2 separate regions of the Homo sapiens genome follow, and region 2 is linked to region 1. The links are contacts of gene promoters, found by promoter capture Hi-C in human tissues and cell types (Jung and others, 2019). All regions are on one chromosome and are shown on one strand. The core of a region is centred on a gene start or on the middle of the fragment in contact, and the rest is flanking DNA. Distances in the headings are between cores, read along the strand shown.

Region 1 (5,349 bases), core at 52-2,551:
GTTTGCCTGGTTTCATAATTCATGGTTCTTCTCATGTAACTAATACAAAGTCCAGCTTCTGACATTGTAGGAGCTCAGTAGAGGTTGAACAAGCTACAAATGTACACGGATAGGTACCCTCTCCTAAGATGGGCAAGTGGAGGCTCCTCTACCTTAACACTATTCATTTTTCCTCCAAAATAAATTGATAACTAAATTGAAGAGCAGATACTCACAAAACAATATCATGAGACTTTACAACATCACAGATGATTTTAGATATTCAGGCATATTAGGTCAATTAGACATACGAAGTAAATAACTGAATGTTCTTGGGCTAGACGGAACCTCCGCTACAAACTAGCACTGAATGAAATGTGTCAGTTTTGAAAAAGGAGGTTTTTATACATTACACAACCTCTAAGGGCACTTAACAGCTCTAATATGTTTTATCAGGGCCCACTGCAGCAAAATTTATTTTATTGTAAAGCAATATTTTATGCTAAAATAAAATAGTTCTAAAAGTTGTTTCCACCCCTCTTTATGAATAACTTCTCACTTCTCCATGGCGAAAGAGGACTGACCACAGCAAAAATTCGGTGGAAACCAACAGCTCCTGGAACACAAAAACTGGGGTTGTTTATAATCTCTCCACCCTGAATATCTAGCACCATTACTATATAATAATAGGTGCTCAATAAAGGTTTGTTAAATAACTTTATTTTTAAACCTTAAACAGATACTAGAAGAGTCCATAGTTGATTTCTGGTCATGCAACGGTTTATTTCTATATTGTAAGTTATGTATTGTTATGTATTATTTCTGTATTAAGAGAACTGAGACCACAGTAGCAAACATCATTTAAAAAAAAAAACAGCTCTATATAGTTTGCAAAAGCCTATTTTTTAAAAGTTTAAATGAAACAACCAACGTTTTGAGTTGGGAGGATGTCCTGTTCTCTCTTGGGAGTTTTCACAACCAGCGAAATCAGTATAGTTACCACTGTTTTACGTACAGAGAACAAGAATTAGAGGCTATCACTAGCCAGAGCACAAAGTGATCTTAGGTCTCCCTCGAGACAAAATCCACTGGCGTGTGGATCAACTGCTTGCAGAGAGCATCTGCTGCCGAGGCCAATAGGAGCCGTGTGTACTCAAGACCCTAACCAGGATCCTGCAGGTCCCGCCTCCGCAGCCCCACGGGGCTGCCGGCCCCCCCACCTCCCATCGCGAGCCTGGCTGCGCCGGCGTGCTTGAGCCCGGTGACTGCAAGGCCCCGGGTCTCCCCTGCGCCTGCGCGGCGAGCAGCTGGCGGAACCGGCATCTTCTGGCGCCAGCTTCCGGCTTAGCGGCTGAGCTTCAGGCTTGACGTCAGGTGGGAAGGGTGTGGGGTGGCAGGTGGGGGCGGTTGGGAGGTTGGGGGGGGTTGGGGTGGGGGGGGTGGGGGGTGGCAGATTGACGGTGTGGGGGGAGTCAAGTGGAAGGTGTGGTCCAGCAGGCGGCGAGAAGTCTGTGGGGCAACAGACCGGGGGAAGGTCTGTGGGGCGTCAGGCGGGGTATCTGTGGGACGTCAGGTTGGGGTCTGTAGGGCGTCACGTTGGGGGTCTGTGGGGCGTCAGAGGGGGGAATCTGTGGGGCGGCAGGTGGGGGGTGTTCGGGGCGGGGTTTGGGGTGTGTGTGGCGGCAGGAGGCGGGGGAGGTCTGTGGGGCGTCAGGTTAGGGTCTGTGAGGTGTCAGGCGGGGTTTACGTGGGGTGGCAGGTGTGGGGTGTGTGGAGAGTCAAGTGGGGGGTGTGGGGCGTCAGATTGGGGGTCTGGGGGATCAGATGGGTGGTGTCTGGGACGTCAGGCGGGGGTCGGGGGGTCGTCAGGCGGGGGATGTGTGGGGAGTCAAGTAGGGGAAGTGGGGCGTCAGATTGGGGGTCTGGGGGATCCGGTCGTGGGGGTGTCTGGGACGTCAGGCGGGGGGCCTGAGGGGCGTCAGGTGGGGGGGTCTGGGAGGCGTCAGGCGGGGGTCGGTCTATGGGGGCAGCAAGCAGGGTGTTTGTGCAGCGGCAGGTGATGGGAGTTGCCGAGTCCACAGCGCTGTAGACTGCGCCGCATTAGAAGCCTGGCCTCCTGATGCTGTGCTCTTCATCTAGACCCAAGCCCCAGGTCGTGGGACGATTTCTCCCGTTTTTGACTCCCTGGAACTGTATTGCCTGCTTTACCTGCGTACATGTTGATTCTTTCTCATGGCAACCCCGCAGGAAACCATCAAGATCTCATTTTACAGCTGGGATTCTCTGGTTCACAGAGGTAACGGAGCTTGCCCGAGGCCAGGTATTCACTGGGAATCCGTGAAGGGTTGGGGGAGAGTAGGGGGAACGGGCAGAGGAATGATGTAGACTCCTTAGGGATTTTCCATTTTCCGAGAGGGTACAGGGGGCATTGGAGCGGGAGAGACTTTAGGCTTGGAGGGAATTACTTTATTTCTCTTCTTACACTTGGTCTTTCATTAACTTTTGGGATCCCAAAGCCCTTCTAGCGTCTTTGTCTGCTCATTTCTTTTTGCTGAGATTGTCCCAAATTGTCACTAAGTGCTGTGGAAGATAGGCAGCTGTAAACCCTTTGTTTCCTAGGGAAACACAGCTTGTCAAGGGTTGCATGAAGGATACTTCAGTTGCATTCGTCACTTACTCCTTTTTTTCCTCTCTCTTTTTTAAGTGCAATAGCATAGCACTTAATCACCTTCCATAGTCACTGAATAAAACCTGCCGGTTTATTTTCATGTGTCACTTCAGGACAATTTAGTCAGAACTGAATGAATGATGAATCGTTATTGTGTACTAATTGCTTGCATTCATTCTCCTGAAAGCTTTGCTTATTGTTAAAGAGTGAAGCTTCTTCCCACCTTTTTATCTCGTTAATATTTTGCAATATTTATATTTTAAATGTTGCTTGGATCAGCAAGCATTATAGTATTAAAATTATCAAGACTTACTACTTTTTAAAGCACATTTTGTAGATTATCTGATTTTTATCTTCATTCTAATTTCTACATAGTTTTTAACCCCATTTTATACTTTAGGAAACTGAAGCTTAGAGAAATTAAGTAATTGCCCAGTATCACACAGCTGTTAAATGTTACCATCCACATTTGAACTCAGATTTATTAGAGTCTAAAACCTGAGCCCTAACCAGGAACCTCCTCATTTGTCTTACTGCAAATGGAATGAATCAGCTAAAATCCTCAGAATCCAAAAAATAAAATTAGCATGTAAAAATGAATGGAAGTCCTAATCTTTGACTTTTTATGCCGTTGTAATGAGCAAAAATACTTACGACTAGTTTATGGCAATTTTGGAATCCTTGTTATAGGCGTAGCCATTTTAGGATACATGTGTATCCACACCATTACCTACATTTTGTCATTATAAAGTAATTTAAGTCCTTGCCTGGGATTTGTTGAGCGAAACTTTAACTTTGAGACCATGTAGAATCTATAGATATATCTGTAGAAACTATATACCAATATTTGAATATTAAAGAAATATTAGTTAACCTACTTTATTTTACATAGTTTATATAGAAATTGTAGATATAGCATTGTGTACCCTGTTTACTCCCTTGAGGGAGCAAATTTTGGGAGATAGGGCAGTGAACATACATAACCAGGTGTTACAGTCAGTTATGCAAACCAGATTCAGAGAGAGGAAACAACAGTATATTCAAAGATAAAAGTTTCAGGAAAGTGGTCTGTCATGCGTTTATCCCTCGATCTAACCCACTCAGTAGAAGCTGGGTTTCCTTTGTCAGAAATTAGACTGAGAAGTGCACCTTTTTTCTCTATAGGCCACCAAATGGCTGTTGTAAACCATTGCCAGGGCAGTCAGAGCTACTGAATATTTTTAACCAAACTGAATCTCACCCACTGTGTGTCTGCGTGCGTGTGTGAGTGTGTGGTATGTAACCAGACCATAGCTTTCCCTAGTGTGCTTATCCAGGAGTCAACTCTAGGTGTTCAGTAATTCATTCAGCAAACCTCCTACATGTCTGCCACTAGAGCACAAATTACAGCACAATTCCTGGCCTCTAGATACTGACAGTATAGTAAATGTAGTATTGTAATTAGCCATTTGATTTATTTTACTGGATACTAGATAATGTAGCCTTGTGCATGTGTGTGTTGCTCATTTGTTTGCGAATTGGAAGATGGGGAGTCACATATTTTCTGCACTGTAATAGATCTCCCCACTCCCAGCAAAACTTCTCCAACTCCACTGCCTGGGATACATGGTGGTGTGCCAGGAGGGGTCTGAAACCACAGGATAAAACATAGTTTCTATTCATGGACCATACATTTTACTTGAAATCTTTTTTTGGAAAAGTTATTTAACATTACATAGTTTAAACCATATTAAAATTACTCTAATATATTTATCTTCCAGTAGAACTTGTATGAATATTTAAAACTAAAGAAATTTACACTTGTGAAATTTTAGGAAATATTCTTGCCCTAGCTTAGCAAGGTACCCATTATTTCTTCTCTGACTTTAGCAGATACTTTAGGGAAAAGCTCTCCCCTCAGGACATTTTACGTTTGTTTTATTTTGTTAAAGCACTTGGCATTTTATTATACTCAGTTTCCACTACACTCCCCCCCTTTTTTTCTTTTCTTTTTTTTCTTTTTTTTTTTTTACAGAATATATTTTCTTTTAAAGCAGAAACATGCAGTATTTTCCCCTAGCACAGTGTATGTAGCACATCTCATATGTAGTCATTAAATACTCAGGGAATAACTGGCATGGAAATATGAAAAAAGCAGCATACTAATAAATTTATACTTATAAGACAGTAAGTAACTATGGTAAAATAGATAAAGTGAGGATTTTATGGGTAGGGCATTTTGAGTTGGAATCGAATGCTGGTGTGATTTGGCATAGCTAGCAGTGAAGAAGTGAAAGGAAACATAGACGTAGGCTTTGTTTGGCTGGAAGAAGAGGGTACCTGTTTTTTCCTTTGTTTTGTTTTTTGGTCAAGGGCCCTGCCTATGATTAGGATTTCTAGGAAGTCAAATTTCAGTTCAGCAAATGAGTGATTTGTTAAAAATATCTGTTCGAAGATCAAGTTCATTTCTGGTGCTATGTGGTAGTCTGACAGGGAAAGAAGAGACATACATGAAAGGCCTTCCCTCAGAAGCTCAGAAGTGAAGTGAATTAAGCCTGATGAGTTTTTTTGTCACCATTATTAGCAATATTTGTTTGTATTATGTGCTAAATAATTAATACATAGAATAACTGGAATTTAAAGAGAAAATTAAAATGATTTCTGTATTATAAATACAGGAAATACAGCTATATAGCTGATGATACTTTTCATAATAACTTCAA
Region 2 (5,008 bases), core at 1,519-4,018, 360 kb before region 1:
TTTTTAGTAGAGGTGGGGTTTCACCATGTTGCCCAGGCTGGTCTCAAACTTTTGACCTCAGGTGATCCACCTGCCTCCACCTCCCAAAGTGCTGGGATTACAGGCATGAACCATTGCACCTGTCCACTTCCCCTACTTTGTAACATTGCCTAGGGCTATCCAATGAGAGAGAGTAGGAATAGAGTAAACCCTAATGGAACCACAATGAAGAGAAATACAGGCAAGATACAAACAAAAAAAAAGGCAAGAAGAAGGGCGAGAGATATAAGTAGAAAAAAAGATACCTCAATTATTGGCGAACATCCTTGAAAAAGAATTAGACAGTAATAGAGTTTGGATGTTCAATGTAGCTTGCATATTATATGTCTATATCATCTGGGTATGATTTAAGATTCTGACAGTCAAAAACGATTTCCACCTGGAATCTCTAATCATATTCACATTACCAGGATATGGTTCTACATTTAGAAATTCTGTATTAGGTAACATACTTTGTTCTTTTTGCTATATGACTTTAGTGAATGATAAATCATCTTAATAAGTTCTTATATCGCTTTTCACTTTTCTAAAATGGGTACTCAAAAATAATATCCTAAAATGTTTATATGTACTGTATTCATCATATGCACACAGGTGGCAGCGTGTATTCATTCAATGTATTTGAAGTTAATGTAATTAAATCACCATTCACATCTTCTTCCATACAGAAGAAAAAAACTTAATTTTACATTTCATTATAGAAAGAAACATGCTTGCTGAAGGCTTATAAAACAATTAATGCACTTTCATTTTTCTCAGTATTCTTAGACTGTCTATTCAGTCTAAGTGTTACATGTATTTATATATGTTATTTTCTGAATTGCTAAATTATGCAAAACAAGCAGCTACTCTGGAAGTTTTCAACTGACTTCTATTTACTGACTATCCTCCAGTCCCACTGTAAAGTACTCTGAACTGTGTGAGTGACATCCCCAGCACAGACAGCCACTGGGATCATCTCCAGGCAAATGGGGCATTCCACTTCCACCTGTAGAGATGTGAGCTTACCAAGAGTGCACTCTCCTGTAGTCCCAAACATGGATATGCCAGTTTTACTTGTTATAGTTTAAATTTAACTAAATAAACAGATAAACTGAGTGCACAAAGACAGAGTTGTTACTAGGAACAAACGTGTATATGTCAGTTTTACTTGTTATAGTTTAAATTTAACCAAATAAACAGATAAATTGAGCGCAAAAAGAGAGAGTTGTTACTAGGAACACTAAAATTAATGCTTTGTAAACACTAAGTGGCTTAAAAGAACTGTCCAGCTAGTAGGAGGATAAACAACTTTAGATGTTTGAGGTTGGTAAATCGAGAAAAACCTAGCATGATTCTGCCCTCAAATTGTCGCACATGTATCTTTTGGTTCTAGGTTAACCTGAAGAATTTTAAGCATAGAAATCTCAAGGTCTGCATTATGGGTATGATTTAGTAAAGAGAGACACTGGACCTCTAATCTGTAGATGCTGTATAGGAAAATGTTTATCCAGGGATGCAGTATAGCAAAATGTTCCTGTTTAAGTGTTTCAGTATGTGCAAACCATGACATTAATTAGAACTCTTTTATTGACTTTATTTTTTAAATTTATTTTTATCATCTATATTTTTAAGTATCAAACATTGATTTATTACGTATTTGAATTATATTATTTGCCACTCAGGAAAATGCAGTCAATTAGTCAATGTCATTGGAATCCCTGGATCTATAAATTATCATGAATTTCAAAACACCTGATCACAAATCACCTAAACTCCAAATGGTTTCTTACTTAACAAATAGCAGTCATTGTAATAGCAGTTTGAAATATTATTTAGGAAGTGGCCAGCTATATGCATTAATTAAAATGCCCAAACAATAGGCATGGCTCTTTATTTTTCTACAGAATTATCTTAATTTGGAGATATCAAAAACAAAACAAAACAAAAAACAAAAAAAGAAAGCTTGCCTTGGCCATCCATGGTGGCTCACACCTGTATCGCAGCACTTTGGGAGGCCGAGGCAGGTGGATCACGAGGTCAGGAGTTTGAGACCAGCCTGGCCAACATGGTGAAACACCGTTTCTACTGAAAATACAAAAATTAGCCGGATGTGATGGAGGGCGCCTGTAATCCCAGCTACTTAGGAGGCTGAGGCAGGAGAATTGCTTGAACCCGGAAGGCAGAGGTTGCAGTGAGCAGAGATCGCGCCACTGCACTCTAATCTGGGTGACAGAGTGAGACTCCATCTCAAAAAAAAAAAAAAAAATTCTTGCCTTTAGCATTTATAGAAATTCAATGATCAGCATTAATCCTTCAGACCTAAATGCATTCAAACGGATTTCTCTTCCAGGCTCTAACTCAGTCATCTTTGAGATGATCCTTCTAGATACTAAATTTCTAACAGCTTTTCATTTAGTTACTGAGGTTATTGCAAGGCAATGGTGACTCATGGGAAAACTGCAAGAGACTCAGTCAAAAGACACAAGTTACTTCCACATTGGTAAGGACACACAACCGTAACTGCAAATAACTACACAGGGCATGGGCCACCACTCTGTCCAAGTTTCCACAAGAGGCCAAGCAGCCTTTGAAGATGCCATTGGTCTTTCTACCCTAACATCCCCTACAAAGGAAAAAATCATATTATTAACCCCTTTCAAATTTTCCATGGTCCTAAATATAATAAGACTTTAAAGATATAATTTCACAGCCATTATATTTACAGTGTTCTGACGCTCGCATATAACTGTATATGTAAAATAAATATGTATTTATTATATAATAAATATATGTAATAATACATAAATACATAATACATATAATTATAATGTATAATAAATATATATGTGAGCTGAAAATGTATTCCCAATAATTGTTGTGATCCACATGCAGTCCATAGTTATGAACACACCACAAGACCAATTAGAAAGTAAAGGACCTGGGGATGTGAAAATGTCGCAATGCTCTTAGTGATGTGTATCTCGACGAATAGTACCCATATTCTGAAGTTGAACACGAGAAATGTATGGGCACCAGGATGCCAGGTTGTTTTTCCAGCCAGACATCCCAGTGGGGAAGATGAGGCAAGGAGGGAAGAGTGGGACCCCTGGCAAGGACACTGGCAGCTTTCTTCAAAAGGAGAGTCTTTATAAGTACACAGCACCCACCAAACAAAAAGGGATATGGAATCCTGGGCCAGATGCTTGTTTATAACATGCCTTTTCTAAGTGGTCATTTCCAGTCTTAAAGTCCTCAAATGGACATCTGGCACTGCCATTACCTCGATATTTAATTTTGCATAATTGCTCCCATTTGGGTTTAAAATAGGAACTGTGAAATGGATTGCAATGAGATATTTTGTTATATAAACACGTTTCTCATTATCTGGTTTTCACTCTTCAAATGGCAGTTTACATAACATTTTTAGTATTTTAATTATTGAATTAAACATGGGAAAACCCTACACAGATTTCCCAGCTTTACTAGGTCATTTCAGACAAATGCACAAATCCTGGCAACTGACGGCAGCTTTTTATGTGTCGAATAAATATGAAGTCAAATACTTACCTTAAAGCCAAGCTTGATATTGGTAACTGCTTCTCAAGCCAGGTAAAAAACAAAGAAATAGAAGTAATTTAATCCTGAAAACTTCATTTTCCAGATCTTCTTAAAAACTAATTTTTTGATCAAAACATAAAGAGGAGCACACAATATATACTTGCGTAGTAAAGGGATAAAAGATCCCTGATGGGGCTATTTTGTCTCTTATATTAAGCTACTCAAATACAACTCCTCAAGTGGAATGAAAATAGAATTAGATGATCAGGAGGAGATATCGGGGTGGGGTAAAAGGGGCAAGTTTAGGGATTTTTATAAATATATGGATACATAGTTTTCTTGTTAATTAGTCATTTAAAATACCTTGTCAATAAAAGACTTCTCGATCACCTTTCCTAGCATCAAAATGATTACAATGTAAATGGGACTATAAGTATGTCTTGTAGTCAGTGCAAAGTGTCTGACAACTTTAATACCAAGTGATGGAGAGAAAACACTATTTCAGGAATAGATATTAAAAGTGATCATATAACACACAGTGGATTGGAAGCATTCCAGGAAGAATGGGACATGAGTGAGGCCTTGAAGGGTAGAGCAGAATTGATGCTGGCAGGAAGAGTTGGATGTGGTGTTCCAGATGGAGGAGAGAGACAGAAATTAAAGCCATGAAGTCAGGAAGATAATAAACTAGACCACGCTGTGCTGGTGCCCGGTGCTGGAGCACAGAGAGAGCTTCTATTATGTGTATTATATGCACACAACAACATGGTAAGGAGATCTCTCATTATCCTCATCCTATATATGAGACATTGAGGCTCTCTAATAGCCAGATTTGGCTATCTGCCTCGAGAATCCAGCCTTTAGCCATTCCCTCCTCTAAGTCACTACTCTCCTGAAGGCACACTCCAAGGACAGGTTAATTACATCAATGTGGCATTTCTCATTCATTTTTGTATAGCTCTTAAAAGTTAGTGAAATGTCATATTGCATTAAACAAAAAATGACCAAACACCTCATGAAAAGGACAACTCAAGAAAACTGTATGGTGGGGAATTTTAGAAAAATTGAATCAAATGGAAAGGTACTGCAAGCTGGGCACAGTGGCTGTCGCCTGTAATCCCAACACCTTGGGAGGCTGAGGCAGGAGGAGCGCTTGAGGTCAGGAGTGCAAGACCAGCCTAGGCAACATAGCAAGGCCCTGTCTCTATATAAAATTTTAAAATTAGCCAGATGTGGTGGCGTATGCCTGTAGTCCCAGCTACTCAGGAGGCTGAGGTGGAAGGATCACTTGAGTCCAGGAGTTGGGGCTGCAGTGAACCGTGATTGCACCACTGCACTCCAGCCTGGGCAACACAGCGAGATCCTGTCTCAAAAAAAAAGAAAAGAAAGAAAGAAAAGAAAAACACTGCAAAGTTCACTGGGAATTCAA

Evidence for each region. The method cuts DNA at HindIII sites, captures the fragments that hold promoters and counts their contacts. A contact is called where the count stands out against the background at its distance.
Region 2: a contact is called between a fragment that was not itself captured here and the fragment with the promoter of LIG4 in region 1, in 1 of the 25 tissues and cell types used here (stomach).

What each region holds. Positions count from the first base shown.
Region 1 is chr13:108,211,488-108,216,836 of GRCh38, reverse strand. It overlaps LIG4 (DNA ligase 4), which reads left to right and starts at 1,301. Exons shown (of 3, transcript NM_206937.2): 1 at 1,301-1,353; 2 at 2,227-2,299. RefSeq lists a silencer at 1,099-1,238 and an enhancer at 1,082-1,376. The HindIII fragment of the contact is 8,794 bases long and covers 1-4,449 here.
Region 2 is chr13:108,576,721-108,581,728 of GRCh38, reverse strand. It overlaps a transcript of MYO16 not described here. Among named protein-coding and RNA genes, the nearest start is that of MYO16, 50 kb to the left of the region's middle. The HindIII fragment of the contact is 5,236 bases long and covers 151-5,008 here.